Linked DNA regions of Homo sapiens: region 2 is linked to region 1. Evidence: promoter capture Hi-C in 16 types of primary human blood cells and fetal thymus (Javierre and others, 2016). All regions are on one chromosome and are shown on one strand. Each heading gives the region's core, a stretch centred on a gene start or on the middle of the fragment in contact. The rest is flanking DNA. Distances are from core to core; before and after follow the strand shown.

Region 1 (4,552 bases), core at 1,105-3,604:
CCTGGAATGGGGAAGGCCTGGGGTGGAAAGGCAGGGGAGGGAGGGTGTGTGTAGGTATGTGCATGTGCCTGTGCCACCCTGGGTGCCAGTCTCTCCTTCTGTAGCTCCGCAAAGCTCTGGGCTTGTGTGAGAGTGTCGGTGTGTGTGCATGTGTGGGGGTGAGTCTGCATGTGCACCTGTCATGTGTAGAAGCTTGTATTTGTGTACAGGTGTGCCAGCCCATGCAGGTGTACACAGACACACCTGTGGGAGGCTGTGTGCAGGCTGCAGGATATCTGGGTATGATTTCAGGTCCTCTGCACGTGTACACATGACTAGGATAGGCAGGAGTAAGGGTGGGTCTGGGTATATGACTGTGCAGCTGTTTGTGCATAGATGTTGGTGCCTGCGTTACTGAATTTGCACACCTCCTTGCCACCTTCCTTCCTCCAAGATACCATCTCCTCATCCTAACCCAGGTCTTCGGCACCACCACAATTAATTCCCTTCCCAACACTTGCCTGATGGAAAAAAAACAAAGGAATTAAAACTCTCCTCAGGCATTCGGAAGTCTTTTTGCTCTCCATCAATGGCAAAGGGAAGACCAAGCCAGGGGGTTCAGCAGCACCATCTCCCCTCAAAGACTGGCTGCAAGAGCAGCCTGCCCTGCCCAGGCCAGGTGCAGTTCCAGAGAAGCCAGCCCTGCAGGCTCACCCCAACCATCTGCCTGGCCCTACCTTAGTGAGTCCAAACCACAATTCAAACTCCCTGGAAGCCCCTCCTAGGCCTGGGGCCACCCCCAAGGCAAGTGTAAGGAGGATTCTGCACCCCCACCCCCTGACCCCCACCTGGCTGAACTTCCTCTGGTCTCCCTCTGCCCTCTAAATTCACCCACCTCAGCCACACATCACTCCTTCCTGCTGGGATAAGATCAGGGCTCCAGAATAAGTGACAGGTGGGGTCTGCCATCAGGGCCGCTGGGGGAGGGGACGGGAAGGGTGGGGGTGGGCAAGAGAGGCCATGCCCTGGGCCCCAGCACATGGAGGGCAGGGACCAGACACCCTCCCTCCCACTTTTGTCCACTATCTTTGGGCAATAAACCAGGCCTCAAACTTACCCAAGCTTTTCAATTCCCCCTCCTCCATAGGTCACCCTGAAACTGAGGCCTGCAGAGTGAGACTCCCGGGTAGGGATGCCAGAGTTCCTCCCTCTAGTCCAGGGACTCCTGCGGGGCCTTTTCGAAGGCCTGGGGAAGGCAGGATGTAAGGTCTCAAACCCAATTGCGATGGTCTTGGACATGAGCCCTCTCAGTAGGCTCCCCTTGGAGGAATGTGGGCAGAGATGCAGAGGCCTGTGAGCCCCAGAACTGCTTTACAAGCCACCAAGCCCATCCTGTCACCCACTCACAACTTGCTAGTGCTTGAGGTATGAGTGGAGGGGGGAGGAGCAAATTGGCCTCCAGCCTGACACCCTGATGGGGAGAGGTGTTCGCGGGATGGGGAGGGGGCTCCCTTTACTTGTCCTGCCTAATGTGTGGGAATATCTCTGAGAAAGGACGCTAAGGCTGAAACAGACTTTGAGAAGCCCCCACCCTTGGACTCTTCCTCAGCTGCGGAGTCCCTAGGACCCTGGGAACGCGCCAAGGAGCAGCAGTCAGGCCAGGAGCCTCTGCAAGGCGTCCATGGGAGAGCAGGGTGTAGGGCACAGGGGCCTGGCAGCCTCTAGACTCAAAATCCCGGCTCCACCAGGTAACCGTCTTGCAAAGACCAGTTTCCTTATTTACAACTCCCCCCACCGCGCAAGTGGAGGAGGAGCCAGCCGCGCCCAGGTCACAGTTTATTTGGCCCGCGCTACCAGTGGGCGGCCTGGCTGGCCGGCTAGGCGCCCTGCATGCGCAGCCCGCGTATGAGTTCGTGCACCGTCTTGTTGAGGATGCCCCCATGTACGCCGCGTCGGCCCATTAGCACCAGGAGCGCGCGCGGCGCACGGCCCACGCACACGGCGCGCGCGTCCAGCCCCTTGGTGCGTGCGTCCAGCACGCCGTCACCCTCGGCCAGCAGGTGGTCGCGGATGACGCAGCAGCGGCGGCCCCCCACGCTCAGGCCCGCCTGCAGGAAGGTGTGCCTGTCCGGCCCCGTGAGCACGCCCACCTCCTGCGGCGAGATGGCCGCCAGCAGGCCCCCGGGCCGCGAAGCCCACACGCAGCTGTTGTCCGCATGGCCCACGATGGCCACGTCGTCGATGCGCTGGTCCCGCAGCACTGCACTGATGTAGACCTTCCAGTCGCCCATCGCGCTCCGAGTGCGCCCAGCCGCCTCGCACCTCTCGGGGAAATATAGAGGCGCCACGCGGGGAAGGCCTGCGGCGCTGTGAGGCAGGCTGGGCGGGGCTGTGACGTCACACAAGGCGCCGTCCCGGAGCGACCACCCAGGCTGGGGCACGTGGGGCGTGGGCGTTTAGTGCTGTCGCAGTTCTAAGGTTATCCTGTAGGATGGGTTTGGCAGAGCGCAGCGGCTCACTCCTGTAATCCCAGCGCTTTGGGAGGCCGAGGCGGGCGGATCGCTTGAACTCAGTAGCGAGATTATAGTAAACTATTATAGGATCGTGTCGCTGCACGCCAGCCTGAGCCACAGAGCGAGGCCCCGTCTCTAAAAAAGCAAAAACAAATTTTAATTAAAAAAAATTTTTTTGAGATGAGGTCTCACTATGTTGCCCAGGCGGGTCAGGAAGTCTTGAGCTCAAACAATCCTCCCGCCTCAGCCTCTCAAAGTGACGAGATTACAGGCGTGAACCACCGCATCTGGCCAATCTATTTTTAATTTTAAAAAGCTGGTTTTGTGAAAAAAGGATGTTGTGTCTGGACAGCCAGACCTTCACTTGTAAGGGAACCAACCATTCAACCCCCAGATTGTGGTTCTTAAGCATGAGAGAACATCAGAATCCCCCGCAAGGCTGTTAAACAGATTGCTGGGCCCCACCCCAGACTTTCTGTTCAGCAGTATAAAGTGTAGCCCGAGAATTTGTTATGTGTAACAAGTTCCCTGGTGATGGTACTGCTAGCCAAGGGACTCTCAGACCCACTACACTAGTGCGTGTTGGGGTGGGGACAACGATATGTCACCCAGCCCTTAGGGTCCACGCCACAGTCAATGCTCTTTTTTTCTATTTTCTTTTTTCTTTTCTTTCTGTCTCTCTCTTTCCCTCCCTCTGTTCCTTCCTTCCTTCCTTCCTGCCGGTTCAAGTGATTCTCCTGCCTCAGCCTCCTGAGTAGCTGGGACTACAGGCGCACGCCGCCGTGCCCGGCTAATTTCTTGTATTTTAGTAGAGACGGGGTTTCATCGTGTTGCCCAGGCTGGTTTCGAACTCCTGAGCAATCCACCTGCCTTGGCCTCTTAAAGTGCTAGGATTACAGGCGTGAGCCACCGCGCCCGGCCAATGCTAAGTATTTCTAACCACGATTCTCAACCTTGGCTGTACATGGAATTATCTGGGGAGTTTTACAAATATACCACTACCCATGCCCCATCCCTAGACATACTGATTTAATTGGTCTGAGGTGGAACTTGGGCATAGATTGGCTCAAAACGCTCCCCAAGTGATCTTAATGTATGGTCTGAGAACTACTGCTCTGTAAACAAAATGTTAGTTTCTCATAAGGAATAACATGCAGCTTCTCCTTGCACAGGGCTTGGTATACAGTATCCTAGGCTCAGTAAACATTAGCTGGGCTGGCATCTAGATTTTGCACGTTAAGATCTCATAGACCTTGTTCTCTGAGAGCTGTGGAGAAGCTGTGAATCGCTTTTCTGTCTTGGCATTTCCCGGCGGGACCCATGAAGAAAAGAGCTTTCCTTCTCAGCATTTTCAAAGCACTTTATTGAGTTCCTGCGCCATCCTGGCGCGGAGCTGGCCGCACTGGGGGAATGGGACACAATCTTGCCTTCCATGCCCCAGCCACTCTCTCACTGCGGAATCACCAAGGAGGGAAAGATGAGTCCCTGAGCAATCAGGAAACGGTGTGCTCCCGGATCCAGGCCAGGTAGTAGGCCACATCGGTGTAGACGCCTGGCTTGTTGCGGTCACCACAGCCCGATCCCCAGCTGATGATGCCTTGCAGGGTGAGCCGGCGCTCTGCAGCTTGGTCCTCACACACCAGCGGGCCTCCGGAATCACCCTGGGTCGGAAACACGCAGCTCAGCGCTGTGGACCTGAGATTTGTGCCTGACGGCCTCGGGGAAGGGCGCCAACCGGGCTAAGAGCTCACCTGGCACGCATCGGTGCCGCCCTCGAGGAACCCTGCGCAGAGCATGCCGGGGAGGATGGAGGATCCGTGCACGTCCGGGGCTGAGCAGCGCTCCAGGGAGAGGAACGGTACCTGCGCCTCCTGCAGGAAGCTGGCATATTCCTCCGCCCCTGCGAACACAGAGCGCCTTCTTCACACCCCATCTGACAACGCTTGCCGCCCGGACGATGGACAAAGCTGCTCCAGGCGCTTGTAAACCCACTCATGCCCTTCCTCTCTCGCAGCAAGCCCGAAGGGGAGGAGGTGCCATTAATTCAATTTCATAGGCAA
Region 2 (4,552 bases), core at 873-3,372, 330 kb before region 1:
ATGAAATGGAACCAAGAGGAAGTGGAAGCATACTCTTAGCCCAGAGCTAGATGCAAAGCAGCTGTTTGAATATAACAACCCACCAGTGCAGACACAGATCTAGACATGTACCTGTATAGCAGCCAATGAGGGGTGGCATGAGGGACAAGGGCCTGGGATTCAGGAGCCCTAAGTGTTGGTCTGAGCACTGCCACCAGCTATATGTGACCTGAGGCCTTGTGAAGTGGAAGTTAGAAGAAATCACAGTTCCCAGCTCAAATCCTGAAGAAGTAGCAATGAACAGGTAGAGTTTCCTCCCAGAGCCCTAAGCCAGGTGTGGTGCACGTGCCTGCAATCCCATCTGCTCGGGAGGCTGAGGCAGGAGGATCGCTTGAGCCCAGGAGTTCAAATCCAGCCTGGGCAACATAATGGGAGCCTCTTAAAAAAAAAAAAAAGAAAGAAAGAAAAAAGGGGCCAGGCGCCAGGCGCGGTGGCTCACGCCTGTAATCCCAGCACTTTGGGAGGCTGAGGTGGGCGGATCACAAGGTTAGGAGATCGAGACCATCCTGGCTAACACGGTGAAACCCCATCTCTACTAAAAATACAAAAAATTAGCTGGTCGTAGTGGCGGGTGCCTGTAGTCCCAGCTACCGGGAGGCTGAGGCAGGAGAATGGCATGAACCCGGGAGGCGGAGCTTGCAGTGAGCTGAGATCGTGCCACTGCACTCCAGCCTGGGCGACAGAGCGAGACTCTGTCTCAAAAAAAAAAAAAGAAGAAGAAGAAGAAAGCCCTTCCTTCCCTCACAGCAGTCCCTGCCAGATGAGCTGTCCCCACCCCCAAACCAGATGCTCTGATGAGCAGTCACTAGTGTAAAATACAATAGGAAGAACACTTTCTCCCTCTGACCATCCATCCACCTAACCTCACCTCTCTGCCCTGTGCAAAGCCCTGTTACAGAGACAGGGCAGACCCGTCCCCGGCCTGTCTCTCCCAAGCTTACTGTTCATATATGCTGCTTCATCTGTCTAGGAATATCAGAACGCAGTTCTGTAAATGTTCAACTCTTCAGTGCAATGACCCCATTAGCCACTAGGTGGAGTCAGCTTCTTTTTTCTAGCAAGGTAGACCAGCCCTGGGACTTTACTGTTTGATTTAATGGGAAGAGAACAGGGTGACTTCACGAGCCCCTGTATATGCTATTTCAGTTAACCCTCAGGACAACTGGCAAAGACTTGATTTCACAGGAGAAAGTCAGGGACAAAGTCTTGCAGAGCTTACACAACCAAGAAGTAGCCTTGGAGAGAGATTTGATCTTAGCACTTCTGCTCATTCCCAAGGCCGATTTCCCCTTCCCTCAGGACATTTCCCTCAGGAGGCCCTCTCTGTTTGAGGGCTGTAACTTAGTCACCTGTCTAGAAGTACACCTGATGTCAGGCCAGCTCCACAGCCCTTCTTTTCCTTTTCTCCTTTGGGTGACAAACCTGCTCCATTCTCAGATCCTGTGGTTCCGAGGGACTGGCCCTGCTCTCTGATTCCAGGAGTGAGCCTGTGACCCGACTGAGTAATCACAGTCATAGTCTTCAGCTGTTAGTGTCCAGCATGTAAGGACAGCCTGCTTCAGAACTAAGCCAACACAGAGGAGGCCGGGCTCGGTGGCTCACACCTGTAACCCCAGTACTTTGGGAGGCCAAAGCAGGCAGATTACTTGAAGTCAGGAGTTCAAGGCCAGCTGGCCAACATGATGAAACCCTGTCTCTACTAAAAATACAAAAATTAGTCAGGCGTGGTGGCGCACGTCTGTAGTCCCAGCTACTCAGGAGGCTGAGGCAGGAGTATTGCTTGAACCCGTGAGGCGGAGGTTGCAGTGAGCCGAGATCACACCACTGTACTCCAGATAAGGAGAGACTCATTTCTGATGACTACCTGGATCCAGCTATGCCTGAAGCTAATATCCCCCAGGACTTTTTAGTTATGACTTTTCTTTAAGTCAGTTGAGTTTCTATAACTTGCAACCAAGATTTCTGCCTAATACTTGCTCCAGCTCCCCTTGTCAACCTGGGGACCTCCACTCATCCAGAGATCACTGGCCCCCAAGGCCAAGTTGGCTGCCCTTTGTGTTCCCAGATGCCCTGTGTTCCCCTCTAGCATAGCCCTTAATATGCTGTGTTACGATGATCTAATTCCCTGTCTCTTCTTTTAGACTAGAAACTGCTTGAGGGCAGGAATTGGGTCTTATGATACTGCATCCCTGGTCCCTAGCATAGGACTGTGCTTATGTTTTAATAACTGCTTGGTGATTGAATACATTAATGAATAAATGAATAAAAATGGGTATGGTCTGGTAGGGACCATTGCTGGGATTTCACAGGAAAGACATTTATTTTGTTTGTTTTTTGAAACAGCGTCTCACTCTGTCACACAGGCTGGAATGCAGTGGTGCAAACACAGCTCATTGCAGCCTCGACCTCACTGACTCAAGTGATCCTCCCACCTCAGCCTCCCGAGTAGCTGGGACTACAGGCGCACACCACCACACCCAGCTAATTATCTTATTTTTTGTAGACACAAGGTCCCACTGTGTTGCCCAGGCTGGTCTTGAACTCCTGAGCTCAAACGATCCTCCCACCTCGGCCTACCAGAGTGCTGGGATTGCAGACGTGAGCCACCGCACCTGGCCGGAAAGACTTATTGAGGGAGATGATCCTCTAGTGGTCATGAAGGTCAAAGGAGCCAGGTTGCTGGGGTGGGAGGAGGCTTAGTGAAAGGAACTAGAAGAGGCGAGTTGTGGAACACAGTTGATTGTTTCAATAATGGCCTCCCATGAATCATTGCCTCCCTGTGCCTGTGTCCTTTTGCAATGTGACTTTATCATTGCTCCCATCAAGATCGGGCGGGCGGGGGAGGGGGGGGGTCCATTTCCCAGTCTCTTGAATCTGAACTAGTCTTGTGAGTTGCTTTGATCAGAGAATTCAGTAACATGACTGTACGACTTCCAAGGTTAGGACTTAAGTGCTCATGCAGCTTCCGTTCCTGACCCTGTGAAAGGAAGTTTGGGCTAGACCATGTGGCGACCACAGACCAGGTAGAGAGAGAAGCCAACAGCCAGCTCCATACATGTGAGGGAGGACATCCCAGACCCTCTAGCATAGCCAATCCACAGCATAAGCAGAACTGCCACCTGAGCCCAGCTAATCACAGAATTGTGAGAAATAATACATTGTTTTAAATAATTAAGTTTGGGAACAGTTTGTGCAGTAAAGGCTCACAGAATCACTAGGTATAATAATCAGAAGCTTCCTAGTGTCTGTTTACCCTTCTTCCTATAATAAGCTTTTCTTTGAAAAACCCCACCCTCAGCTTATGTAGTCCGGGTGGGGAAGACCTCCACTCTCCTGGCTTTTGCCAGAACAGTTGAGAAGTTGCCAAGTGGGAATGTCTCGAGCCCAGAGCTGTTAGTGGCCTTCTTTGTCACTTCTTAGGGAGCACCTGTCATAGAGAAGAAGACAGAAGAGAGAATGAGTTTTGACCATACTGTTGGGAACCAGGATCAAGCTGTTTCTGGAGCCTGATTCACACCAGGACTTACAGTCATGCTCCTGTAGTCCCAGCTACTCAGGAGACTAAGGCAGGAGAATTTCTTAGGCCCAGGAGTTCACATCCAGCCTGGGCAGCACAACAGACCTCATCTCTTTAAAAAGTGCATGAGCCAGTACATTCACTATTTTGTGTAAGCAGGTTTGAATTTGAGTTTCTGTGTCTTGCAACTGAATGAAAACGTTCGCTGAGAGCCAGAAAAATTGATAGAGGCTGAGCAGCTCCAGGGCAGAGGGCAGTTAGGTCAGACAGAGGAGGGATTCCTGGCCGGGCAAGTTGGCTCACACCTGTAATCCCAGCACTTTGGGAGGCCGAGGCGGGCGGATCACGAGGTCAGGAGAACGAGACCATCCTGGCTAACACGGTGAAACCCGTCTCTACTAAAAATACAAAAATTTAGCCGGGCATGGTGGTGGGCATCTGTAGTCCCAGCTACTCGGGAGGCTGAGGCAGGTGAATGGCATGAACCCAGGAGGCGAAGCTTGCAGTGAGCCGAGATCGCGCCAGTGCACTCCAACCTGGGCGACAGAGCAAGACTCCCTCCGTCTCAAAAAAAAAAGAATTTTTTTTAAATAAAAATAAAATATATCTACATTTTGGCCGGGCATGGTGGCTCACGCCTGTAATCCCAGCATTTTGGGAGGCCAAAGCAGGTGGATCATGAGATCAGGAGTTCAAGACCAGCCTGGACAACATGGTGAAACCCCGTCTCTATTAAAAATACAAAAAAAAACTAGCCGGGCATGGTGGTGGGTGCCTGTAATCCCAGCTACTCATGAGGCTGAGGCGGGAAAATGGCTTGATCCCAGGAGGCAGAGGTTGCAGTGAGCCGAGATGAGTAACACTGTACCCCGGCCTGGGCGACAGAGCCAGACACCGTCTCAAAAAACAAACAAACAAAAAAATCTACACTTTTTAATACTCCTCCCTTCAATAGGTCAAGTTTAATTTCTACCCTATATCCCCTAATATGGGCTG

Evidence for each region. The method cuts DNA at HindIII sites, captures the fragments that hold promoters and counts their contacts. A CHiCAGO score of 5 or more calls a contact.
Region 2: a fragment that was not itself captured here is called in contact with the fragment with the promoter of PFN3 in region 1 in 1 of 17 cell types (erythroblasts); the score reaches 5.2 in erythroblasts.

Annotation. Positions count from the first base shown.
Region 1 is chr5:177,398,307-177,402,858 of GRCh38, forward strand. It overlaps PFN3 (profilin 3), which reads right to left and starts at 2,355. Exons shown (of 1, transcript NM_001029886.3): 1 at 1,803-2,355. The coding sequence starts at 2,270. The coding sequence ends at 1,857. It overlaps SLC34A1 (solute carrier family 34 member 1), which reads left to right. Exons shown (of 13, transcript NM_003052.5): 13 at 1-542. It overlaps F12 (coagulation factor XII), which reads right to left. Exons shown (of 14, transcript NM_000505.4): 13 at 4,244-4,392; 14 at 3,835-4,153. The coding sequence ends at 3,986. RefSeq lists an enhancer at 3,664-4,521. The HindIII fragment of the contact is 6,138 bases long and covers 1,100-4,552 here.
Region 2 is chr5:177,070,947-177,075,498 of GRCh38, forward strand. It overlaps a transcript of ZNF346 not described here. Among named protein-coding and RNA genes, the nearest start is that of FGFR4, 14 kb to the right of the region's middle. The HindIII fragment of the contact is 2,298 bases long and covers 974-3,271 here.